3 separate regions of the Homo sapiens genome follow, and all the other regions are linked to region 1. Evidence: promoter capture Hi-C in human tissues and cell types (Jung and others, 2019). All regions are on one chromosome and are shown on one strand. The core of a region is centred on a gene start or on the middle of the fragment in contact, and the rest is flanking DNA. Distances in the headings are between cores, read along the strand shown. Region 1 holds the start of GART (phosphoribosylglycinamide formyltransferase, phosphoribosylglycinamide synthetase, phosphoribosylaminoimidazole synthetase). Region 2 overlaps PAXBP1 (PAX3 and PAX7 binding protein 1). Region 3 has its middle 15 kb from the start of EPCIP.

Evidence for each region. Contacts are between HindIII fragments. The study calls those that stand out against the background at their distance.
Region 2: a fragment that was not itself captured here is called in contact with the fragment with the promoter of GART in region 1 in 2 of the 25 tissues and cell types used here (dorsolateral prefrontal cortex and spleen).
Region 3: a fragment that was not itself captured here is called in contact with the fragment with the promoter of GART in region 1 in 1 of the 25 tissues and cell types used here (dorsolateral prefrontal cortex).

The regions. Positions count from the first base shown.
Region 1 is chr21:33,540,061-33,543,907 of GRCh38, forward strand. It overlaps GART (phosphoribosylglycinamide formyltransferase, phosphoribosylglycinamide synthetase, phosphoribosylaminoimidazole synthetase), which reads right to left and starts at 2,057. Exons shown (of 22, transcript NM_000819.5): 1 at 2,005-2,057. It overlaps SON (SON DNA and RNA binding protein), which reads left to right and starts at 2,978. Exons shown (of 12, transcript NM_138927.4): 1 at 2,978-3,109. The coding sequence starts at 3,033. RefSeq lists silencers at 1,933-2,222, 3,263-3,352 and enhancers at 2,373-2,822, 2,387-3,118, 3,023-3,082. The HindIII fragment of the contact is 11,246 bases long and covers 1-3,847 here.
Region 2 is chr21:32,745,156-32,749,002 of GRCh38, forward strand. PAXBP1 (PAX3 and PAX7 binding protein 1) reads right to left here. Exons shown (of 18, transcript NM_016631.4): 11 at 3,344-3,543; 12 at 419-563. Among named protein-coding and RNA genes, the nearest start is that of PAXBP1-AS1, 19 kb to the left of the region's middle. The HindIII fragment of the contact is 5,225 bases long and covers 1-3,847 here.
Region 3 is chr21:32,826,873-32,830,719 of GRCh38, forward strand. No RefSeq gene overlaps it. Among named protein-coding and RNA genes, the nearest start is that of EPCIP, 15 kb to the left of the region's middle. The HindIII fragment of the contact is 3,476 bases long and covers 244-3,719 here.

The sequences.
Region 1 (3,847 bases), core at 807-3,306:
AATTAAAGGATATACTGAAAACTGGGGTAAGCAAACTTTACACAAAAAGGGCCACATAGTTCTGTCAAAACTACTCGACTCGGCCACCTTAGCAGGAAAGCAACCAAAGATAATACGAAGATGAATCAATGTGCCAATGTCCAGAAAAATTTAATGGACCCATAAACAGGCAGTGGGTCAGAGATCACTGTTGCCTATCAGTACTTTAAGTAGCAGGAAACCATCAAAGGTTTGTAACAAATAAACGTGACTCGCTTTCAATAAAACTTTATGTACGGATACTATAATTTGAATTTCATAAAATTTTCACATGTCACAAAAACCTCATTTATTTCCTGTTCTTTTTCTCAATCATTCATATTTGGTGAGCTGTACAAAAGCAGGCAGCAGAAGGATTTGGTATGTGGGCCATAGTTTGCTGACTCCTAATTCAAATAGCGCAATATGCTAGAATATTGGTAGAGAAGGCAAAAATCAAATTCCAACTCATTTCACTTTAGTTCTGGCACCTGAGACTTAGAAGGATGGATACAACAGCAGTGTAACCTAGGAGATTAACTGAAATGACATTTATAAATAAGTACAATCTGGCACTCAGCAGTAGTAAATGTTAACTTGTTACATTTACTTACCACAAGACAAACTGGTAACAGGAAAAAGAAAATTGAAAACTTATTTTGATGATGTTGGGATTACATATTTTAAGAAAAATGTAAGCTGACAATATACAAAACTAACATTTTTTTGAGCACTTAACCTTGGGCAGGGTACTATTTAAAATGCTTGTCATGAAAGAATCCTATGAGGGAGATACTATTACTATCACCAATTTGCAGATAAGACAAGGAGGCCCAGATAGGTAAATAACTTGCTGGAGGTCACACAGGTAAGAGGGGGTGGAGCCTAACAGAAGCAATTTTGCTTCAGATTCTCTCAACAAGTGAAACGATGATCATTGAAAATTTGAGAAAGGAAAAAAAAAAACCCTGTTAAATTACAGTCTCGGAAGGAACAGCTACTTTAGTGTAACGGGAAAACACATTTTACTTGCCATGTGTATCTGAAATAAACAGATTTTTTATTTTATTTATTTATTTATTTGTTTAGACAGTCTCTCTCTGTCGCCCAGGCTGGAGGGCAGTGGTGTGATCTCAGCTCACTACAACCTCCGCCTCCCGGGTTCAAGCGATTCTCTTGCCTCACAGCCTCCCAAGTAGCTGGGATTACGGGCGTGCGCCGCCACGCCAGGCGAATTTTTGTATTTTTAGTAGCGACGGGGTTTCACTACGTTGGCCAGGCTGGTCTCGAACTCCTGACCTCCAATGGTCAACCCACCTTGGCCTCCCAAGTGCTGGGATTACATCACATCCGGCCAGAAATAAACAGATCTTTAAATCTAGAGCAAATGTTACATCTTTAGTTTGAATATAGCAGTAGTGTGGGAAAATTCTGTTTACTCTAGTGGATCACTGAAAATAGCCTTACTACCCAGTGGTGAGGACGCCTGGGCTCCTGAGTCTCACACAGCGCCTTGGCCTGGGTAGAGACGCTGCCCCATACTAGCAGGAAGACCTTGGGGGACTTCACTAACCTTGGGCCTCATTCCTCAGAATGGGTAACATAAGCAGAATAAGACAGGCAAATAAAGCCGTATCAGAGGATATGGAGAATAAAGTAGAAACCAACTACAAAATTAACCAAGTAATCTGCCAGAGACAACGGGTGCATAAAGAGAAAGTACACCAATTTAGGGTTATGTCCTAAAAATGTATAAAGACACAAAAAGGCCTTGACATCTTAGAAAACAGGAAAAGTAAAAGAGCAAATAGAAACCAGCTAACAGTAGCAAGTGAAAAGCACATGGCCAACCCCCACCCACCGCATTTACAAACAACAGGAAAATTTCTACAAATCAGTTTCTATGGTTTCACTCAGTTCGCGATCTTAAATCCCCAAACCAAAGCCTAAGCGCGCTCCGTGTAAAAGCGGAGGGGGTTTACGCACCGACACCGGGTGGCCACCTGGTTCCCGCTTGCCCGCTCGCCGGAAGTCGGCCCACCGGGACCGGCGCGGGACCAGCGCGGCACCGCCCCTCACTGCCCCGCCCTACGACGGCTTCCCTGCCCCATTGGTCCGCGCGGCCCTGGGTCTCCGCGGCGAGAATCTAGTCTGATTCCCTCCCGCCCTGGGCGCTGCCTGACTGCTCCCCAGCCGAGACACCCAAGCCTTAGCACGTTTATAATGTGACAGTGGTACGGGGTGCCACGCAGTGTTTCCAGGAGCGCCGGGGGGGAGCGCCAAAATGCTAAACCCATTCTTAGCCAATTGTGCGCCGCTCACGAGTCAGAGCTGAGCAGCTACCGCGGAAAAATCTCGTGACACGCCTGACTCCTGATGAGACTAAAATGCACCGGGCTTTGAATGCCGGTCGCTTAGGACATCCGGCCTATTGCTAAAAAAAAAAATGAGGCTGGTTATAGAACGCACTGGGGAAGACACAGGGCAACAGCGAGTTCCTCCTCTCACATGCCAGTGGGGGCGGGGGCTGAAAAATTCTCTCCCGGATGCATATCCCTGTCGAAACTGAACTTGGCGCCACCTGAGAGCGCCTGAAAGCCGTGTGTTAAACACCGGGTTGCCCTTCTTGCTCTTCTTCCTCTTCGCCTTTAATCTCAGGCACTTAGCAAGCCTGTTAAGGCTCCCAAACACTGCTGGGGACTGACAACTTATGCGGACACGGTCGCCTCAAGAGAGACGGCTCCTGTAATGGCGCCTGCGTCAGACACTAACATGGCGGACATAGTCGTGCGCGGCGCAAACGTCAGCACCTCTACCCCAGCCGCTCAGAAACAGCAGAGGAGAGCAGGGCCGTGCTCACTGATTGGTCCCTCGGTGGAGCGGGCCGGACCGGGCATTCCCTTTGGAGCCAATCAGGAAGGCGAGAGACCGAATTGGCCCGTGCGCCTCCTCCCGAGGCATGCTGGGAGCCTGGAGGACTAGCGAGGAGGAGTTGAGAGAACGGAGCGGACGCCATGGCGACCAACATCGAGCAGATTTTTAGGTCTTTCGTGGTCAGTAAATTCCGGGAAATTCAACAGGAGCTTTCCAGGTAAACGCCTCCCAGATTCTTCTGCTCCCAACGGACCGTTAGGCCCTCACCTAGCCTTCTTTGGCACCTTTCTTCGGAGACGCAGTCGTTCCCCGGCTCAGGCCCCGCTAGGGCCCCGCCTGGGCCTGGGATCCATTTTCCGGGCCCCCCCCAACCGCCCCCCCAGCCGCTCCCTTCCTTTTCCCTCGAGGAACTTCGCCTTTTCCGAGGTAACCCAAGACTCCCTGTTTCAGAACCGAGTTAAGATGTTCACCCTTCTCCCCTGTTTGGGTCCCCCCTGCCGTTTAGCTACTCGTAGGCCCGGTTGTCCGCCAGGGACGGGCCTAGTTCCTTCCTCAGCTCCTCCTCCGCCGCCGCGTATCCCCTCCCCCTCTCGCCTCCGCGGATTTTGCCGGCCGGTGCCTATGACCGGAAAGGGTCTCTAACGGCCGTTTCTTGGTTAATCTTAAATCCTCTTTATTATTGCGAGCTTCAGACCGCTTGGGGGTCTGGATCTATTAATAAGATTATTCGGGGCCTAGTGTCCTGTAGTATCTGTCAGCCGTTCTGATAGTTAAATGTTTCAATTAAAACGAACTCAAACTGATGCACTTGCTAGTTTGTTAAAATACTCGAGATAAAGATGGAAGGGGACTTTGAAATGGTTGCGATTAATTACAGCAAGTGAAAGTGGACTTTGTGTGTAGGTCTATTATTTTCTTGCTACCCCTGCCCCAGTTGACACGCTATTTTTGTCAT
Region 2 (3,847 bases), core at 386-2,885, 800 kb before region 1:
AGAAATGTTGTCTTGGCATCAAGAATTTCAAACTAACATTTCTAGTATTTAAAATAGATTCCTGTATCAATGATTCCTAATCTTTTTTGAGGAACTTATGAAAGCATTTTAATTGCTCCCCACATAAATGCATATCCTCCTCCCTCAAACTCTGTATAATTTTGCTTCAGTCAGTCTTTGAATTTCTAAACCTCACCTATGAAGCAATTACTGCACTCAACTACAGGCCCACCCTAAAGTGGTCTTCAAGTCCCAGGATAAGAACCCCTCTGCCCTCTAGCCATCTCTGGGCCAGGTGGTAACTATTATTTCTCATGTAATTTCTATAAGGAAACATGCTCTGAATTATAAACTCATAAAAATAGATTTGAGAAAGCCAGTGTGTCTGAATGCTCAATTCAGAGAACAGGAGATTTACCTGTTAGTTTAGGAAGAATCACCTTTTCCACAATGGTAGGTAGTAGGGCAACATCTACATCATCTTTTTCTTGCTCTCGTTCTTCACAACCATAAAACAGCAAAGATTCAAACCACAGCATATTCTCAAAGTCACGACATTTTGCCTAAAAGACATTTAAAAGGTTACCCAAATACTAAAATAGTGGCTATTTCTGCTTCCAGCTATGATAAGAGAAACAAGAACTGGATTTAACCTTTGGTTGCAAACAACTAAAAACTGGACGGCTGGAGATATCATGCTACCAGACTTCAAACTATAAGGCCACAGTAACCAAAACAGCATGGTACTGATACAAAAACAGACACATAGACCAATGGAACAGAATAGAGAACTCAGCAATAAGACCGCACACCTACAACCATCTGATCTCCGACAAACCTGACACGAACAAGCAATGGGGAAAAGATTCCCTGTTTAATAAATGGTGTTGGGAGAATTGGCTAGCCATATACAGAAAATTGAAACTGGGCTCCTTCCTTACACCATATACAAAAGTTAAGTCAAGATGGATTAAAGACTTAAATGTAAACCCCAAAACTATAAAAATCCTAGAAGAAAATCTAGGCAATACCATTCAAGACATCGGCATGGGCAAAGATTTCACGACAAAAACACCAAAAGCAACTGCAACAAAAGCAAAAATTGACAAATGGTATCTAATTCAACTAAAGAGCTTCTACGCAGCAAAAGAAACTATTATCAGAGTGAACAGACAACCTACAGAATGGGAGAAAATTCTTGCAATCTATCCATCTGACAAAGGTCTAATATCCAGAGTCTACAGGAAACTTTATAGGAAAAAAACAACCCCATTAAAAGTGGGCAAAGGACATGAACAGATACTTCTCAAAAGAAGACATTCATGTAGCCAACAAACATGAAAAAAAGCTCAACATCACCGATGATTGGAGAAATGCAAATCTAAACCACAATGAGATACCATCCCATGCCAATCAGAATGGGAATTATTTAAAAGTCCAGAAACAAAAGATGCTGGTAAGGTTTCAGAGAAAAAGGAACACTTTTACACTATTGGTGGGAGTGTAAGGAAGACAGTGTGCCAATTCCTCACAGATCTAGAAGCAGAAATGCCATTTGACCCAGCAATCCCATTACTGGGTATATACCTACAGAAATATAAATCATTCTATTATAAAGCTACATGCATATGTATGTTCACTGCAGCACTATTCACAATAGCAAAGACATGGAATCAACCCAAATGCCCATCAATTATAGACTGGATAAAGAAAATGTTATACATATACACCATGGAATACTATGCAGCCATAAAAAGGAACGAGGTCATGTCCTTTGCAGGGACATGGATGGAGCTAGAAGCCATTATCCTCAGCAAACTAACGCAGGAACAGAAACCCAAGCACCACATGTTCTCGCAAGTGGGAGCTGAACAATGAGAATATATGGACACATACTGGGGAAAAACACACACTGAGGCCTGTTGGGGGGTGGGGGTGGGGACTTGGGGGAGGGAGAGCAACAACAGCTACTGGATGCTAGGCTTCCTACCAAGGTGATGGGTTGATCTGTGCTGTAAACCACCATGTCACATGTTTACCTATGTAACAAATCTGCACATGTACCCTGGAACTTAAAAGCCAAAGAAAATAAAAAAGAACTGGACAAAATACAATGGACCATAGGCAGCACAAGACTATGACCCTTTAAAGAAAGGAATCAAATGAGGTGAGATGCTAGTTCAGGACAGCAGAGCAGTTTTGCTGAGTGGAGGAGACAGAGGGTGGAGCTCAGGAAGGCTGACACAGCTGGAAACTGTGGGGCAGAGGAGTGGGGGACACAGAAAAATAACTCCAAAATACAGTCTTGGGCCTTTGCTATCTACCAAGACACTCATGCACACAGCAAAACTTCAGAAGGTCTGGCCAAGAGCACACAGGAAATAGGAGCTGTGAGCTGAATGCTTCTCAGAGCTCACATTTTTTTCAGTTGTGTTTCCATGGCATCAACCTCAGCTCCCTTTTCCTTATAGTTCACAAATTCAACCTAGCCAATCTCAACCATGTCTACAGCTTCACCCACGTTGGTAACTTCTAAAACCACATTGTAAACATCACCACTAGACCTCCAGAGTCAATTCTAGCCCCCTCCCTTATATGACAGGCCAATAGGTCCTCTTGATTCCACCTCCTTATCTTTTTTTTTTTTTCTTGTGGCAGGTCTTGTTCTATCACCCAGGCTGCAGTGCAGTGGCACAATCATAGCTCATTACAGCCTTGATCTCCCGGGCTCAAGCAATCCTGCCTCAGCCCCCGAAGTAGCTAGGAATATGAGCACATGCCACCACAGCTAATTTTTTTTTTTTTTTTTTAAGTAGAGACAAGGTCTTGCTATGTTGCCCAGGCTGGTCTTGAACTCCTGAGCTCAAACAATCCTCCCGCCTTGGCCTCCCAAACTGTTGGGATTACAAGCATGAGCCACCATGCCTGGCCTATCAATTTTTCTCACCATGACAACTGACTTGGGTCATGTCCTCATTTCACACCTGCCTCATTGTGCTTTCCCATCTGGTTCTGAGTTCCTCTAGGATCAAAGGACCAAGTTCTTACTATTCATGTTCATATCCCAGTGTTACTGCATATAATTTCAGCTGGCTGAAAAAAGGATTATATGTAAACTGAAAAAACAACAACAACAACAAAAAAAACACATAGCTCTGCTGGGAAGACATGAAACTTAAAAGGAAAGATCATAAGATTATAACCAGATACAATCTATCAATTATAGCCTATGCCCTATCACCCCTGCAAAATATTTTGCTTAAGCTTACATCTCTAGCTTTGAGATTAAAATTACCCAGATATCAAATTATAACACTTTCTAATAGTGACAGAAGCCACTCACCTCAAGAGGAGTCCAAGTGAGGAGCTGAAGTCGTATGAGGGGGTTGAATAATTTTGGCAAACAAAGGCCAATGTAAGCATCTTTGTAGGATGTGTAGTATTTTGAACGCCATGCTTCAAACTGTGATTTAATACAGTCAATTGAATAGAAACTTTCAAGGACATCTTCAAAAACTTTGCCGGATTCTTTTGAAATTCGATCTAAAAACAACAAAACCCCACAGAGAACCATACATTAGTATGAAGTAGGAAAAAAACAGTCCAATATTTTCAGTGTTTTCTTTGTAGCTTCAGTATCAGAAGATACGCTCATTAACAAAGGGCCAATTGTTAGTCACAATTTAGAAGAAAAAAATAAATTGAAGTTTCAATTTGTCTATTATGTAAACTAAAGTGCAGCCAGTCCTTGTTTTGCAGTTCCAGTATATACAATTTTTCTACCACAGTTTGGCTAAATAAAACCTGTTCCCAAACAAGATGGTTCAAATTTCAGTTACTACGGTGT
Region 3 (3,847 bases), core at 732-3,231, 710 kb before region 1:
CTCCATAACGACAACAACAAAAAATTAATGCCTGTTAGAGGCGCTATCCATGAAGCAGCAACAGGAGACTGACTGCTTTTGCTATGAGCCAGAGTCTGATGTGATAAAACCAGAAACAAAAACCAGCCTCTTGTCTTGGTGAAAAAGGGGGCCACTAGGCAAAAGGATGGCGAGAAAGGCCACCTGCATTCCTCATTCAAATTCTTCCTCATTCCTTGATTTCTCTCAACAGGTAGCCATCAAATCTGAGATTCGGTGTTGTTATAAATCTCTTCAAGAATATTGGGGAAGAGGCTGGGCATGGTGGCTCACGCCTGCACTTTGCGCCTCCCAGCACTTTGGGAGGCTGAGGAGGGCAGATCATGAGGTCAGGAGTTCAAGACCAGCCTGGTCAACATGGTGAAAACCCGTCTTCTACTAAAAATACATAAATTAGCTGCGTGTGGTGGCAGGAGCCTGTAATCCCAGCTACTTGGGAGGCTGAGGCAGGAGAATAGCTTGAACCCGGGAGGCGAAGTTTGCAGTGAGCTGAGATCATGCCACTGCACTTCAGCCTGGGAAACAGAGTGAGACTCCATCTTAGAAAAAAAAAAAAGGACTATTGGGGAAAAAATAGCAAACCCTGGACATTTCAGATCACTAAACTACCCCTTGTGTGACTTGCTCAAAATAATGTTATTACAAACTCATGGAATATTACTGGCTTTAGGCGATGACACAGTTGCAGTAATGTTCTGATTTGATTATTCAGAAATGAAATTTATGGTTTAAATTTCATCCAGGATTTATAGAATTTAAAAAAGTTATTCTTCAGTATTTGAAATACCACTTTGCCAAAGCAGAAAAGCCATAAATGTGTTAAACTGGCTAAGAAAATTAAGATGGCAGTAATACATTTTCTAATAAAAATCATAGCATAATAGCAAAATTACTGCGGAAAACCACAGTTATTGTGGCAAAGACATAAAATGTTACAGCTGCAATAATATGCTATTTGTTTTGGCAGGAGAATAAGAATACTGTACATTGCAGTTTTTCAATATTGGAAAAACATAAGAAAATACTATAAACTTAAAAGACTATTTTTTAAAAATGAAGAAGTGCATGAATGATTTTAAATTTTGAGCATATAAAAGAGTCTTGCTGCAAAGTCTATTGAACTCCTGAGAAGACTCTGTTTTGCTGTTTCTGATTTGCCAGTATCCTACCAGAAAACTATGCCTCCCAATAGAAAAAGAACACATAATCCTGTCTGTATTTGAGGGTTCAAGCCTGGAGATTCCGCCCCCTTGGTCGGTTGATTTTTATTGGAAACCCAAGATGCACCTGCCTGTGGAATGCATTTCAGAATGTGGAAGTACAGCAGGAAGAAAGCAGACAAGAACACAATCCCATGGTATTCTTGGTTAGGGACAGCTTGGGGGTCAGTGGGGGAGACATACACAGATTAAATGATTAATAGAGTAATTCAGCTTATTTACATTAGTCTGGTTTTTTACATGAGGGGCTCACAAATTCTTAATTTGTCCTTTCTTTATTATATTTTTCTTTTTTGCTATCTTTCAATATTGATTATCCATTTCTTCCCTTAATTACTAGACTTTCTGAACTTTTAAAAACATATATCTTCCAACTGGAAAGTATCTGTCCCTTATAACAACTACCAGTACTACTCATAAAACAACAAAAACCCATATAGCACTTAATAAGTGTCAGTCAGTATTTTAAACAGTTTATGCATATTATTCATTTAATCCTCTCAATGACCCTGTGAGAAGGTGCCATTATTCTCCTTATTTTTCATACGTGGAAAGTAAAGAGTAGGGAGAAACTGTCCAAGCTCACACAGCTAGTAAGTCATAGAGCTGAGACTGGAACCCAGATAGCCTGGCCCCAGAGTCCTTCACTATTCTGAATTTATAAAGATATTTTTGATATTTTCTTCCCAAAGTTTTAAAGCTTTCCTTTTCACATTGGAGTTTTAAATCTATCTATAATTAATTTTGAGTATGGCATGATTTAGGTATAACTTTTTATATGAAAAACTAATTTTCCCAGTTCTATTTATTGATATGCAAATATAAAATGTCTCTCTTTCTCTCTCTATATATATATCTGAGGTTGTTTTTGAGTGCTTTATATTCTTGCTTTGGTCTGAAAATTCACAGGTTGAAATTCTAACTCTTGAGACGATGGTATTAGAAAGCAGGGCCTTTGGAAGGCGATTACGTCATAAGGGTAGAGCCTTCAGGAATGGGACTTAGTGCCCTTAGAAGAAGCTGAGAGACCAGCGTTTTCTCTCTTCCATCATGTGAGGACACAGCAAGAAGGCACCATCTATGAACCAGAAAGTGCCCCTCACCAGACATCAAATCTGCTGGCACCTTGATCTTGAACTTCCAGCCTTTAGAACCATGAGGAATAAATGTCTGTTTTTATAAGTCATCCAATAGGTGATGTTTTGTTATAGGGCCTGAGTAGTCTTAGACAGTTACAGATGATTCGCTCTCACTGACTGTTGAATATTATTCTAAGTGTGGATATTACACAATTTATTTACCCATTCTACTATTTTAATTTTATTTTTTTTAATGTTTGAGACAGGATCTTGGTCTGTCACCCAGGCTAGAGTGCAGTGGCACAATCATGGTTCACTGTATCCTCCAACTTCTGGGCTTAAGGGTTCCTACCACCTCAACCTCCTGAGTAGCTGGGACTACAAGAATATGCCAACATGCCCAGCTAATTTTTCATCTTTAAAAAAAAATTATTTTGTAGAGTGGGATCTCACTATGTTGCCCAGGCTAATCTTGAACTCCTGGGCTCAAGCGATCCTTCTGCCTTGGCCTCCTAAAGTGCTGGGATTATAGGCGTGAGCCACTGTACCTAGTCCCATTCTACTATAGATGGGCATGTGGGTTGTATCCAGTTCTTTTACTATTATAAATAGTGAAGCCATGAACATTCTCCTAAATGTGTTTTGGTGAACATGTATATACATTTCTGTTGAGTATACATCCAAGATTGAAATTGCTGGGTCACAGACTACACATATGTTTCTGCTTTAGTAGATGTCGCCTGACAGTTTTCTAAGGTGGGTGGGCCATTTTACACCCCGACCAGTAGTATATGAGGGTCCCCGTTGTTCCTCACTCTTGCCCACACTTGATAGTGTCTTCTTCCCTTTAGTCATTCTTGTGTACACAATTGTGGTCCTAGGTGACATTTTCTTGATAACTATTTGAAGGCTATCTTCTTTGTGTGGTGACATAATTGCTCATAATTCTGCCCATTTTTTTCTTTTGGGTTGTCTGACATTTAATACAAATCGCTTTGTAGGAGTTCGTTATATAATCTGAATGAGTCCTTTGTTGAATACATGTATTTTAAATATATTCTCCCACTCTGTGGCTTAACTTTTCACTCTTAACACTGTCTTTTGATGAACAAAAGTTTTTAATCTTTTTTATTTTTTGAGACAGAGTTTCACTCTTGTTGCCTGGGGTGGAGTGCAATGGAGTGATCTCAGCTCACCACAAACTCTGCCTCCCAGGTTCAAGTGATTCTCCTGCCTCAGCCTCCTGAGTAGCTAGGATTACAGGCGTGCGCCATCATGCTCGGCTAATTTTGTGTTTTTAGTAGAGATGGAGTTTTTCCATGTTGGTCAGGATGGTCTCAAACTCCCGACCTCAGGTGATCCACCTCCCTTGGCCTCCCAAAGTGCTGGGATTACAGGCATGAGCTGCTGCGCCTGGCCGAAAGTTTTTAATATTAATGTGTTTTAATTTACTTATTTTTTCTCTATGATTATCACATTTTTTGTGTTGGTTAAATAGACCTTTGGCTA